Linked DNA regions of Homo sapiens: regions 1 and 3 are each linked to region 2. Evidence: promoter capture Hi-C in 16 types of primary human blood cells and fetal thymus (Javierre and others, 2016). All regions are on one chromosome and are shown on one strand. The core of a region is centred on a gene start or on the middle of the fragment in contact, and the rest is flanking DNA. Distances in the headings are between cores, read along the strand shown. Region 1 overlaps XKR5 (XK related 5). Region 2 holds the start of DEFA5 (defensin alpha 5). Region 3 has its middle 16 kb from the start of GS1-24F4.2.

Region 1 (4,803 bases), core at 1,282-3,781, 230 kb after region 2:
GCATCGTCTCGGTCTCCTGACCTCGTGATCCGCCCACCTTGGCCTCCCAAAGTGCTGGGATTACAGGCGTGAGCCACTGCACCTGGCCACAGGATTTTTTTTAAGGGAGAAAAATTCAGGGATCAGAGCGGTGAAGCCCTGCAGCTCAAGTGTTCATTAAATCATAGGCACTGAGGGTTGGAAAGGTGTTCAAGGGGTCGTGGCCAATGCTGCTGTGTGTCCTAGGGGTTTATGCCTGCAAGCTATTCCCAAGACTTTCTCCGGAGGCACTGAAATGAGTGATGAGCCCCACATAGAGCATCACTGTGAGCAGGGAATGGTGCCGTCCCGCCCAGAGTAGAATCTCAGCTAGGAGGTAGAGGGTGCTTCTGAGAAAGACTTCAAGCACCCACTCTCAGTTTCACTGGACCCTCAGAGTTGGACCCTAAACCTCTAACAGCACCGAAAGCATATTTGCAGCCACAGGCATTTTGCCAAAAGCTCGGCCTTGGTGTTCAAGCAGTGCCGTTCCCCTGAAAAGACAGGGCCCTTCCTTCCATGGCGGAGAAGGCAGAGAAGGATCTTTCGGAGGGCCTCATAGGGTCAGAGCCTCTCCTGTGCCCTAGCTGCCATTGTCGTCTCCTTCCCTGATCGGCCCAGCCCAGTAATCAATCCTTAAGGGCTCTGGGTCTTACTTGGCTTTGACCATCACAGTCGTAAGGCATGAGCCCTCGAGGACAGAGGCCTGTTGAGTGAGTCAGCTACCATGAGCCCATGTTTGGCAGCCCAAAGAGAGAGGTAAGCCCAGGTGGTCACTTAGAGAAGCTTCCTGGGTAATGAACGGTTAGACAAATCTGCCTTCTGAGGCTGTGTGGACCCTCAGGCCTCATGGAATCCACTGCCTTCCTCAGAGATGAGGGCTGCCAGGGGACCACGGTGTGTCCAAATTCATGCTGCTGGTATTTCACAGTGGACCCCACACTGTCTTTCCCATGCACTCTTAATTTTCTTAAGTGATGCCATGATTTTCTGGTGTATATAAAAAAACGAACTTGAATAATCTGGTATATACTAGTGAAATCATATAGATAAGTGAAGAGATACATGAAAATTATAAATTAGGAAAAACCATTAGTCATATATATTTATTCTTGTTTTGAAAAAGAAGTTAAGATGACTTTAAAAATACACATCCTTAAAAGAACAAAAAAGAAAAGAAAAGAAATGAGAAAGGCCAGGTATCGAGATGAAATGTTAGAAAACAAGATAGAGCCAGAATGCACAGCTATCGGAAGCGGGTCACAATTTGGCCCTAAGGTTTATAACAGCCAGTGCAAGCATAAAGGCCGCAAGATTTGCAGTGTTTCTCAGGTTAAACATGAACCAAAAAACAGAAATTTACTTCCATAGAGGAAAGCTTTGAAAGTTAAAATAGACAGCAGTGGATCCATTCCTCATCCTGAAACTAGCACATAGGGTTCAAAGACAACACTGAGTGAAGCAGTATTTTTAGTGAGGCAATCCAGCTTTCCAAATTGCAATTCTAGAAAAGGACCTGTAGGGGGAGCCAAAACAATTGCGTTTGGCACAATTTTGAATTGCCTAAGAATAGGTCACTTTGAGTGTCCTCATCACAAAATACAAAAGAATCTGCTAACTGAGAATCCAGTAAAACACAAAGTTGCTTATAAAAATGCAAGGATTGAGGCCTGGCGCGGTGGCTCACGCCTGTAATCCCAGCACTTTGAGAGGCCGAGGCAGGCGGATCACGAGGTCAGGAGATCCAGACCATCCTGGCTAACACGGTGAAACCCCGTCTCTACTAAAAATACAAAAAATTAGCCGGGCGTGGTGGCGGGCGCCTGTAGTCCCAGCTACTTGGGAGGCTGAGGCAGGAGAATGGCATGAACCCGTTAGGCGGAACTTGCAGTGAGCCGAGATTGCATCACTGGACTCCAGCTTGGGTGACAGAGCGAGACTCCGTCTCAAAAAAAAAAAAAAAAAAAAAAAAAAAAAGCAAGAATTTGGCCTGGCGTGACGGCTCACACCTGTAATCTCAGTGCTTTAGGAGGTGGAGGCAGGCTGATCTCTTGAGGCCAGGAGTTCTAAACCAGCCTGGCCAACACTGTCGAAACCCCATCTCCACTAAAAATAGACAAATTAGCCAGGCGTGGTCACGCACACCTGTAATGCCACCTACTCAGGAGACTGAAGCATGAGAATCGCTTGAACCTGGGAAGTAGAGGTTACAGTGAGCTGAGATCACGCCACTGCACTCCAACCTAGGCAACAGAATGAGACTCAATCTCAAATAAATAAATAAATATAAAAAGGCAAGGATTTAAGCCATAAGTGTATTCTTTTTAACGTTCCCAATAATACATACTATGTTCATTTTAAGTCTGACTCTGTTCAAGAGAACCTGACATTGGTGACCACTTATTTAAACAAAGACCATTACTTTCTTCTACTTAGGTTTTTTACTTACACTTTAATACTGTATGTTACCAACATCTTTTTCATCTTTCTTTTTAAGCCCACAAATCCACTTGTAAATGCAGCATGAGATGACAGAAGAAGGCCTATCTCATCCTTAGCATGCACCTTGGTTTAGCAATTTTTCTTTAGTGAAAGTTCAAGGTTGTCAAAAGGAAAGTTAAGGTAAACTCTAAAGGTATGTAAGACAGGTTCAGCATAAATGGGTGGAGATTTAATATTTAAAAGTATATAAAATATAGCCCTAGCCCTGGAGGGCCCAGTCCTGCCTCAGGATCCCTCGAGTGAGGCTTGAAGGCTGTTGCGATTTCCATCAATGTAGGGAGGGAACAGGCGTTTCCGACACAGCAAGCTGCAGCCGCTGGTGCAAAGACATAGATGCGTGCCAGAAGTGGTGTATATGGGAAATTAGGATGAGGTTCTTGAGACTAAAGGGTAAGAATTTCCTAGATGGCAGGAATGTGGCAGGAGATAAATGGGCTGGACCATGAAGAAACTTTTCTACTGGATTAAGGAGTTTGGATTTTATCCTCAGGCATTGGAGACCTGTTGGAAGGGTTTGAGCAAAGGAATAATATGGGCAAATGAGCCTGTAGACAGATGGCACCAGGGACAATAAAATGCAACAGAGTTGGGAGGGACGGGGTCCATGCAGGCAGCCAGAAATCCAGGCAAGTGCTGATAAGGACCTGGAATGATGCAGCGACTGTGAGGACAGATGTCGGACACCATCTCATAGGACCTAGTGACCAAATCCCCACGCTCTCCATCCCGCCTCAGCTTCCTCCCCGGCTTCCCTAGTGGCTGTCCAGGGGTCTCAGCCTGAATTTCTCCCTCTGCAATGGGTTCGAGACAGCTCGTTTCAGAAAACCGGGCTAGTCACCTTCCCACTGGTCCTCTGTTTCTTACAAGAGTAGCCCCACAACTCAGCCTCTCCTGGCCCCCGCCTTACCAAGCACCAGATATTCGCTATTCCCAGACATGGACCTTCATTTCAGTGCCTTGTACCCTGTGCCACTGACCCCAGACACTCCTTTAGGCTCTTCCTACCATCTACCTGTCCAGAGTTTGCCTGTCCTCCTCTTCCAGGAAGCATTCCCTGACCACCTTATTCTCTCTGCCTGTGACTCTGATTCCACCACTACCCAAGCCACTCATGTTGATACTTATATTTCTTCCTCTTGAAGCTTTTCGCATTTGTATGTTTTCTTTCCACACTGAATCTTAGGTTTCTAAAAGACATCTTTCATTTCACTTCCCCCCTTTTCTTTTTTTTCACGAGAGTCTTCTGCCTCTGTCACCCAGGCTGGAGTGCAGTGGCATAATTATGGCTCACTTGCAGCCTTGAACTTCTGGGCTCAAGTGATCCTCCCATCTCAGCCTCCTGAGTAGCTGGGACTACAGGCACCCACCACTATCCCAGCTCTTTGTTTTGTTTTGTTTTGTAGACATGGAGTCTCATTATGTTGCCAGGGCTGGTCTCAAACTCCCAAGCTCAAGCAATCCTCCTGCCTTGGCCTCCCAAAAAGCTGGGATTCATTTCTCTTACTTCGCCTGTGGTCTGTAGCAGGTGGGCCTCTCAAAGCCCAAGAAAAATGCATGTTGAACAAACAAAGCTTTCTGGAAGAGCAAGAAGAGGAAACTACCCCATGTCAGGAACAAATGATTTGAGAGTGAAAAGAAAACTACTGCCTGCCCTCATGGTTACATTTTTTAGTGTCATATGTTTTTCTTAACATTAAGTTTATGTCAGGAATCAAGACACAGTAAGAAATGGGTTCACTCCAGGATTCCAAATCATGAAAAAGGAAAGTTGTTTTTCTTAGACATCTGTCCTGGGATCTCAGCACCATGAATAAAGCCATTTCAAAGAGGAGTCCCCGAATCTTCTGCTCTGGACATAGAAATGTTTGCCACCCATCAGGGTCCAGCTTGTCACCTGCCAGTCAGAGCCTTAGGGGTCTCTACAGGGAGTTTTGCAGGTGACCTTCGAGATGCATCCAGCTTGGCTTCAGGAGTTGCTAAATTGAAGTGACCTCTAGTTCTTAAATTGAACAAGACAGGGAAGCAGAATCCAGTGGGTTTGCTGGGCAGCAGGCTCGTGTGCAGGCGGCTGTGGTCATCTCCTTATTGCTGCTGCTAGGTAGACCCAGAGAGGAATTGGTGGGTGGTGGCGAAATCTGACCTCCAGGTGAGACTCGAAGCCTGAGAGCCCGCTGGTGTGGTGGGGAGTGGCTTCGTGGTCATGGGTTCTATGTGGATCTTCAGGTTGTAAGGAAGGTGGTCTGTGCCACTTTCTACTTATGAGATGAAGTTTCCAGTAAAGGT
Region 2 (4,285 bases), core at 833-3,332:
GAGGTCAGGAAATCGAGATCATCCTCGCTAACACAGTAAAACACCGTCTCTACTAAAAATACAAAAAAATTAGCCGAGCATGGTGGCGGGCGACTGTACTCCCAGCTACTCAGGAGGCTGAGGCAGGAGAAAGGCGTGAACCTGGGAGGCGGAGGTTGCAGTGAGCCGGGATCGCACCACTGCACTCCAGCCTGGGCGACAGCAAGACTCCGTCTCAAAAAAAAAAAAAAAAAAAAAAAAGAAGGAAATTCTTCATTCATGACAACATGGATGGAACCAAAGGACAATGTGCTAAACGAAATAAACCAGACACAGGAAGACAAATACTATATGATATCACTTACACATGGAATGTTAAAATGTCAGTTTTATGGAACTAGAGTACAAAGGTGGTCATCAGAAGCTGCAGGTGGGTGAGATAGGAAAAGAGAAGATGTTGAGCCAAGAGTACAAAGTTTCAGTTATGCTGGAGAGTCTTAGTGATCTATGGCACTGCACGGTGACCACAGTTAATAGTGATGTATTGTATCTTTCAAACTGCTAAAGGAATCAATTTGTAATTCTCCTTAAAAAATTAAGTTGGTGAGGTGATGGCTATCTTAATTAGCTTATGTGTTTCTCCCATGTGGATATCAATCCAAACGTCACATCATACCCTACAAATATACAGAAAATTATTTTTCAATGAATAAATAAATAAATTTGAAAAAAATTAAATGAGGAATTCAAATATAGAGACTCTCCAAGGGCCCACTGAGCCCCAAAGGATTTGGATCAAATATGGTGATATTATGGAAATATGTAGTAATATCTTAAAAATGTGTAAGATATAGTCTCTTTTTTTTTTTTTAAGAGAAAGGGGTCTCACTATGTTTTTAGGCTGGTATCGAACTCCTGGTCTCCAGTGATCCTCCCACCTCAGCCTCTCAAATAGCTAGAAATATAGGCATGTACCACCATGCTGGCTTAAGATGCATTCTTTGACACAGCAATTCTATTTCTATAAGTTTATCCATATAGGTAAGAGAACATATATACAAGATAATCACTGTAACTTTACTTATTACTGCAAAAGTTTAAAAATAACCAAATTGTAATAATTTTATAATATTTTATCAGTACAAAAAATAAGTGATGGCATATACAAACCCTGGGATAGTATAAGGCTATTAAAATTATAATAGCATTCCATGTATTTTGATATACAAAGTGCCAATGTTACAGGTGAAAAAAGCGAAGTGCAGAATACTATGTGTAACTGTTAATAGTGATGGTTTGCTGGGTCAGAACTGAAGGCCTGGGGGTAGAAATGAGAGCTCATGACTTCTACCTTTTGAATGTTGTTCCTTGTGCATGATTTACAATTTTCTAAAACTAAAAAAAAAATCTCAGAAAGGGGCTGTACGCACCTAAATTACTTTGATATTCCCCAAAGTGGAGAGAAGTACCCGCTACACATTTTATGTGATGCATTCAGATCACACCAACTCCTTGAACTAAATCCGAATTTTTATTTTAATCTGATAAACTTGGCCTACTATTTTACTGAACTCATTTCCCCTATAGCCTGATAAGGTCATTGACCTCTCCATACTGGCACCAGCGGGAGACTACTCACCTCGAGATCTCAAAAGCCTCCTACATGAGGTTAGTAATATCCCTGAATCCTGCAATGAATTAACTCTCTACTCCACTGAGTCCCAGGTCTGCCCCCAGAGAGTCATCCAGAGAGTACCAGGGACCATCTTCAGAAAACAAGAGGCATTTGATCCCCAAACTTCTTGAATGAAAGCGCTGTTGTTTTTCTTTTTTGAATATATAAAAGTAAATACTCAAGCAGATGGGAAACAGAACAGGATAGTAATACCCTTATCATCATTAACACCTTGGATCAAGAAGAGGCATTAAGCATACAGACTCACGCTTTGATGAAAGCTGGGAGAAAGAGGAGCATCAAAGGGATCTTGAGAACAAAGGCAGTCCTTCCCCTCCCAATCACATGCCCACCTCCTCTCACTGCAGCTTCTGTCTCAGGTCTTCTCCCAGCAGAGCTATAAATCCAGGCTGACTCCTCACTCCCCACATATCCACTCCTGCTCTCCCTCCTGCAGGTGACCCCAGCCATGAGGACCATCGCCATCCTTGCTGCCATTCTCCTGGTGGCCCTGCAGGCCCAGGCTGAGTCACTCCAGGAAAGAGCTGATGAGGCTACAACCCAGAAGCAGTCTGGGGAAGACAACCAGGACCTTGCTATCTCCTTTGCAGGAAATGGACTCTCTGCTCTTAGAACCTCAGGTAGGAGACATCAATCTTGCACATCTGCAAAATCTAGAAAAAAAGGATTGGAGAAAGGATCTGGAGTCAAGTGTGGAAAGGTCTACCTCACTTGAGTGACTTTACTTAATCTTCCTGGACCTTGATTTTCTCATCTATAAATTAATCAGTGAGAACCAAATAAATCTAAAAGATTTTCTTTTTTCTAAGACTTTCAGTTCCAAGATATTTCTGTGAAATTTGCTACTTTTAAGATAGAAAGAGCTACACTGACTAGTTCTTTGTAGATCTAAATGGGCAGACTTAGTTATATAGAGAGTGTTTTACTTTGTCCATTGGAAAAGCTTTTAGAACCTAGAGAGGAACCTATAGGTGTGTTTTGATGTAGGCTAATAGGCTTGATTAAATCTTTCTACAATACATCCTTAGATCAAAACATCATATTGTGTCTCATACATATACACAATTATTGTTTGTCAATTAAAACAAGTAAATATGTAAAATGTTAAAAAAAAAAAAAAAAAAAAAAAAAGGAGAGACAGAGAATGAAGAATTTGAATTTGGAAAGTCTTCAAAGACTCCTTGAGCACCAAAGTATTTGGTCCATGACATTAGCATGCACAATGCGGCATTTCAGAAACTGATTCAGGTGCTTTAGGGAGCCTTGTTAGGACCTGGAAATCACACATGGAGGTCAAGATTAGGCGTGTGGATGAAGCAGAATGAAGAGTAGGTAACCCTGAGGTTGAGAGGTATATTGTTGGACCAGGGAGCAGGTAATAAATACATCCTGGATAGACTCACATGGGGAAAAAAACTATGATCTTGCATGACTAACACATAGCTAGTAAGATTTCTTGTCACTTACGACAAAGACATGAATTTTCTCCATCCTAACATGACTGATACAGTGTCTCTTATTTAGACTATCTCAGTTAGTCTGGCTGTGCTTGTCCTTTTTCCCACCTCCCTCGCTGTGCCTGACCCTCTCTTCTTTCCACAGGTTCTCAGGCAAGAGCCACCTGCTATTGCCGAACCGGCCGTTGTGCTACCCGTGAGTCCCTCTCCGGGGTGTGTGAAATCAGTGGCCGCCTCTACAGACTCTGCTGTCGCTGAGCTTCCTAGATAGAAACCAAAGCAGTGCAAGATTCAGTTCAAGGTCCTGAAAAAAGAAAAACATTTTACTCTGTGTACCTTGTGTCTTTCTAAATTTCTCTCTCCAAAATAAAGTTCAAGCATTAAACTTAGTGTGTTTGACCTTTTTAATTTTCTTTTCTTTTTCCTTTTTTTTCTTTTGCTTTGTTATATGGTGGTTTGTATGGTTCCTTTGTATTGAGAATTCTGATCTACATTAAGTTAACTGGTCTTTGCATTCCAATGATGCACAATTTGAGCATCATAGAGCAATAACAAAATAACAAAAATGAATATAATTGGGTTTTTTATTGTTGTTGTTTGAGACAGTGTCTAACTTAGCCACCCAAGCTGGAGTACAGCGGTGCAATCTCGGCTCACTGCAGCCTTGACCTCCTGTGCTCAAATGATCCTCCCACCTCAGCCTCTTGAGTAGCTGGGACTACAGGCATGTGCCACCACACCCTACTAATGGTTTGTATTTTTTTGTAGAGACAGGGTTTCACCATATTGCCCAGGTTGGTCTCGAACCCCTGAGCTTAAGTGATCTGCTCTCCTCAGCCCCCCAAAGTGCTAGGATTACATGCTTGAGCCACCATTCCTGACAGGATATAAGTGTTAATTGGAATAGTTTGAAACTTAAAAATTCAATGCATTCCTAATGATACTCAAAAAGTAGAAGTTTACAATGAGAGGCAAAAAGTGGTTGTTGGCTCAAAGGAAAGATAGATCTAATGGGCTATGTTTACTTGTCCTTTAATTTTAAAAAGTGGGAAAGCATTGCTATACATAATTTTTGAAATTTTAAGCAGATGTGTTAAATATATACACTTTACATTAAGCTTTATTTCACTCTGTTTTGGTGATATATAACTGT
Region 3 (4,679 bases), core at 517-3,016, 200 kb after region 2:
GGCAACTCTCCCAGGAGCACCCCTTTCAAATGCAAACCAACCAATCAAAAGTCCACACCCCCAGTTGCCCTCTTCGGGAGGCTCTCATGCTCTGGTCTCTATCCACCAGCCCTTATCTACCCTGGGCCAGGTACCAGACGACTAGGGACACCCTCTGTGCCCCAGAACTGCTGAAATTATTCATACTAGCAAATCCCAAACCTGCTTGCCCTGTCTTCTCATTTCTTCCCATGGAAATCACAAGAAAGGCTCTCGCCCACAGTTCCTTTTGTCTCCATCTACTTCCTAACCCCAGGCTTCCCCATGTGGCCCCCCTGCTCTGTGTGCCCCTCCTGCGATCTGTGGGTCTAACAAACTCCCTTTTCAATGGCACCGTGTCCTGATCCGTTGGCCTCACTGTATTTCTGGTGCTATATTTTAAAGCCAGCAAAACTCTGATTCTATCACAGCATCCTAAAATTTCATATCCTCTTGACACACCAAAAACTCAAATCTAGGAGATGACAGAAGCCTCATTGAACCCAGGTGCCGTATCTGCAGAATGGAAAATTCAGCAGAAGTATCTAGGGCCTACAAAAGGAAAATATATCTTGGGGTCCCCCAACAAATCACTAAGCTAAAGGGAAAGGTCCGGCTGGGAACTGCTTAGGGACAACCTGCCTCCCATTCTATTCAGTCACCCCTCTGCTCACTGAGATGAATACATATCTGATTGCCTCCTTTGGAGAGGCTCATCAGAAATTCAAAAGAATGCAACCATTTGCATTCTTGGAAGCCCTTCCTATCATTTGGAAGCCCCTCCCTGCTTTGTCTTCTCGCCTTTGCTTCAAGTTGTTCTGCCTTTCCAGACCGGACCGATGTTCATCTTGCACATGTTGATTGATGTCTCCTGTCTCCCTAGATTGTGTAAAACCAAACTGTGTTCTGAAGACCTTGGGCACATGTCCTCAGGATCTCCTGAGGCGGTTTCACAGGCACACAACCCCAACTTTGACAAAATAAACTTTCTAAATTAACTGAGACCTGTCTCAGATTTTGGGGGTTCACAGGCCAGATGGAGCATTCCAAACTCACTGCTGTTTCTAGACCAAGGAGTGCAAGGAAGACATTTGAGGCTAAGCAGGGAGTTGATGGACTCCCTGCGGTCAAGTCCTGAAAGCTTTGTCTGAAGGTTGTAGAAAGTCTATGGAGGTGCTTGGACCATGGCTCCCCAGGCAGGTAGGCATTACAAACTGCATCCTGCTCCACTCTTTTCAGTGGGCGTTGCAACTTGACTTGTTTGTTCTTGAAACAAGATAGTGAAAGAACCAGGTGGAGATGATTTAACTTGTGGTCTCCCCTTGGGGAAAGTTTCCTGGAACAAGACATGAAGGGTTGGGGCTGTTTTGAAGGCAGTGGTTCTCCTCCAGTGCAGAAGCCAGCTTCTCTGGCTCCCTGGGATGGGGCCCAGTTCAGAGATCAGATAAACCATGAGAAATGCAGCAGAACAGAATGCGGGCAGTTAGAAACATGTCTTTCTCCCTTTGACAGGCTGTGTGGAAAGACTTAGCAGCTGATAAGAGGGAGAAGCCAAGCGAGGAGGTTGTAGAAGTGCACAAAGACTCCAAGGTTTAGAGACTCAGGAAACACCCATAATTTGAGAAGCACTGAGCCCTACTGTCAATGCAGGCAGAAGCTGCAGTCCTGCCCTGGGATGGATGAGTGATTTTCCCTGCAGGCCGCTCAGTCCCACCACAAATATTTGAGAATAGTGGGGAAGAACAAACAGAGACTTATGTGCCAAGAGACTAATATTTAACAGCTATAAATCAAACTATCACACTGTTGACTAAAACGTGTTCTATCCTCCCACCCTAAACAAATATACTTCCAAGACAACCTGGACCTCCAGGAAAAATGTAGGATCCTTGCACTCCCACAACTCCCGCACCAGAATCAGACAGCACAAAGAGGGCAGGGCCTTGGCTTGCAGCCCCTCCCCTTTCTCTCCCTACAGCCAAGACCATCCTCAGCCTCCAGGGTCTCATGCACTCCCACACAGGACCTCTTGGCTTGCATCTCTAAGCTGTGTCACAGTCTCACAGCAGCCACCACTTGGCCTATGACACACCCTGGGAGCACGTCTCACCTTGGGGTTCCAACCCAAGGAAGAAACTTCCAAAGGCCCTAGACGAAGGCTGGGGGCAAGTAATTCTTAGGTCATAGGAGCCCAGAGAATGATTAATGAGAAGGGACATAGATCTGGCCAGACAGAAGACCTCTTAACCCCAGGCCCGAGAAGAACCCCTCTTGCCTGGGTCTCCAGCTGGTACAGAGACGAGGAAGCCCAAAGAAGTTTCCACTTGGCCCCAAAGGTTGGATTCAGAAAGCTTCCCAGGTTAAGAGAGGGAGTCACGGGATAACCCTGATCCAGCTAAGGTGAAAACGGATTCCTGCAGGAGACAGAGATGCCCTCTGCAGACACCCTCCTACTAGTAAATGGGAAAACAGACACTCAGACCGTGTGTGTGTGTGTGTGTGTGTGCATATGTGGGCGTGGGTGTTTGCAGGTGTGCATGTATATGCATGTGGATGTGTGTGAGTGTATGGGGTGTGCGTGCATGCATGCTTGAGTGTGTGCAGGTGTGCATGTGTATCTGCATGTATATCAGTGTATAAGTGTGCACGTATGCATGTAGGTTTATGCAGGTGTGCATGTATCGACGTGTGCATGTGCAAGTGTATGTATGAGTGTGTGCAAGTGTGCATGTATTTGTGCAAGTGTGCATCTGCATTTGAGGGTACGAGTGTGCATGTAGGTGTGTGCAGGTGTGCATGTGTGTGTATGTGCAGGAATGAGTGTACAGGATGTGTGTGGATATAGGTGTGTGTGTGGGTGTGCATGTGTGTATATGTGCGGGTGCGCATGTGCCGGTGTGATTGTATGGGGTGTGTGCGTGCATGTAGGTGTGTGCAGGTGCACGTGTGTGTATACGTGCAGGGGCACAAGTGCAGGTGTGAGTGTATGGGGTGCATGTGCAGGTAGGTGTGTGCAGGTGTGCATGTGTGTATATGTGCAGGTGTGCATGTGCAGGAGTGTATGGGGTGTGTGTGCATGCAGGTGCAGGAAGTGCAGGTGTGCATGTGTGTATATGTGCAGGTGCGCATGTGCAGGAGTGAGTGTGTGGGGTGTGTGTGCATGTAGGTGTGTGCAGGTGTGCATGTGTGTATATGTGCAGGGGCACATGTGCAGGTATGAGTGTATGTGGTGTGTGTGTGCATATAGGTGTGTTCAGGTATGCATTTGTGTCTATGTGCAAGTGTGCATATGTGTATATGTGCAGGTATGAGTGTATGGGGTGCATGTGCATATGTGTGCAGGTGTGCATGTCTGTATATGTGCAGAGGCACATGTGCAGGTTGAGTGTATGGGGTGCATGTGCATGTAGGTGTGTGCAGGTGTGCATGTGTGTATATGCGCAGGTGTGCATGTGCAGGTGTGTGTATGGGGTGTATGTGCATGTAGGTGTGTGCAGGCAGGCATGTATGTTCATGTGTGCATCTTCCAGTGTGACTGGGTATGCATGTGTGTGTGTGTGTGCATGTATGAGTGCACACATACATGTGCAGCTATGGGTGTGTGCATCTGCATATGTATGGTGGGAAGTGGGTTCTGGTGTGTGGGAATTCCCCTTGCAGTGACCTGCCCTGGGCCCCTGGTCTCCCCTCGCTGAGTTGTCTGTCACCAGCTGTCCTAGAATCTGGCTTTGTGGAACAGGTGGATACTTGGTACTAACTTCTGCAGTGAGCTGACTTCTCACTGCAGAAGTCAGCACCAAGCAGGTTGGTTCTGTGCAGGGCCACAACAGAGATCACCTTCAAATTCTTTAAATGAGAAGTTGACAGACATTTCCATCCCTCTTCTGGCCCTGGCTGTCTGTGTTCCCTGAGGCCCATTGACCTCTGTGGTCAGGTATGTAGGCCAAGCGTCCACCCTTGGAGCTAAATATGAGGTCTTTCCCATCTAAACGTGTGGCTGGCCAGCAGAAGGGTAGGAATGGAGCTGCTCAATCGGAAAGCACTCCCTGTGCAGATAAGATTCATTCTCGGGTGGAGCCAAGATGGCCGAATAGGAACAGCTCTGGTCCACAGCTCCCAGCGTGAGCGACGCAGAAGACAGGTGATTTCTGCATTTATATATGAGGAATGCAGCTCCTCACCAGCAAAGGAACAAAGCTGGATGGAGAACGACTTTGACGAGTTGAGAGAAGAAGGCTCCAGACGATCAAACTACTCCGAGCTACAGGAGGAAATTCAAACCAACGGCAAAGAAGTTAAAAACTGTGAAAAAAAATTAGACGAATGGATAACTAGAATAACCAATGCAGAGAAGTCCTTAAAGGAGCTGATGGAGATGAAAGCCAAGGCTCGAGAACTATGTGAAGAATGCAGAAGCCTCAGAAGCCAATGCGATCAACTGGAAGAAAGGGTATCAGTGATGCAAGACTAAATGAATGAAATGAAGCGAGAAGGGAAGTTTAGAGAAAAAAGAATAAAAAGAAATGAACAAAGTCTCCAAGAAATATGGGACTATGTGAAAAGACCAAATCTACATCTGACTGGTGTACCTGAAAGTGACGGGGAGAATGGAACCAAGTGGGAAAACACTCTGCAGGATATTATCCAGGAGAACTTCCCCA

The links. The method cuts DNA at HindIII sites, captures the fragments that hold promoters and counts their contacts. A CHiCAGO score of 5 or more calls a contact.
Region 1: a contact is called between a fragment that was not itself captured here and the fragment with the promoter of DEFA5 in region 2, in 1 of 17 cell types (total B cells). The highest score is 5.4, in total B cells.
Region 3: a fragment that was not itself captured here is called in contact with the fragment with the promoter of DEFA5 in region 2 in 3 of 17 cell types (total B cells, naive B cells and fetal thymus); the score reaches 6.8 in total B cells.

Annotation. Positions count from the first base shown.
Region 1 is chr8:6,827,019-6,831,821 of GRCh38, reverse strand. All of the region lies in intron 2 of XKR5 (XK related 5), which reads left to right. Among named protein-coding and RNA genes, the nearest start is that of XKR5, 6.1 kb to the left of the region's middle. The HindIII fragment of the contact is 2,266 bases long and covers 1,399-3,664 here.
Region 2 is chr8:7,054,536-7,058,820 of GRCh38, reverse strand. It overlaps DEFA5 (defensin alpha 5), which reads left to right and starts at 2,082. Exons shown (of 2, transcript NM_021010.3): 1 at 2,082-2,295; 2 at 3,278-3,517. The coding sequence starts at 2,124. The coding sequence ends at 3,390. The HindIII fragment of the contact is 6,427 bases long and covers 1-2,620 here.
Region 3 is chr8:6,849,643-6,854,321 of GRCh38, reverse strand. No RefSeq gene overlaps it. Among named protein-coding and RNA genes, the nearest start is that of GS1-24F4.2, 16 kb to the right of the region's middle. The HindIII fragment of the contact is 1,210 bases long and covers 1,162-2,371 here.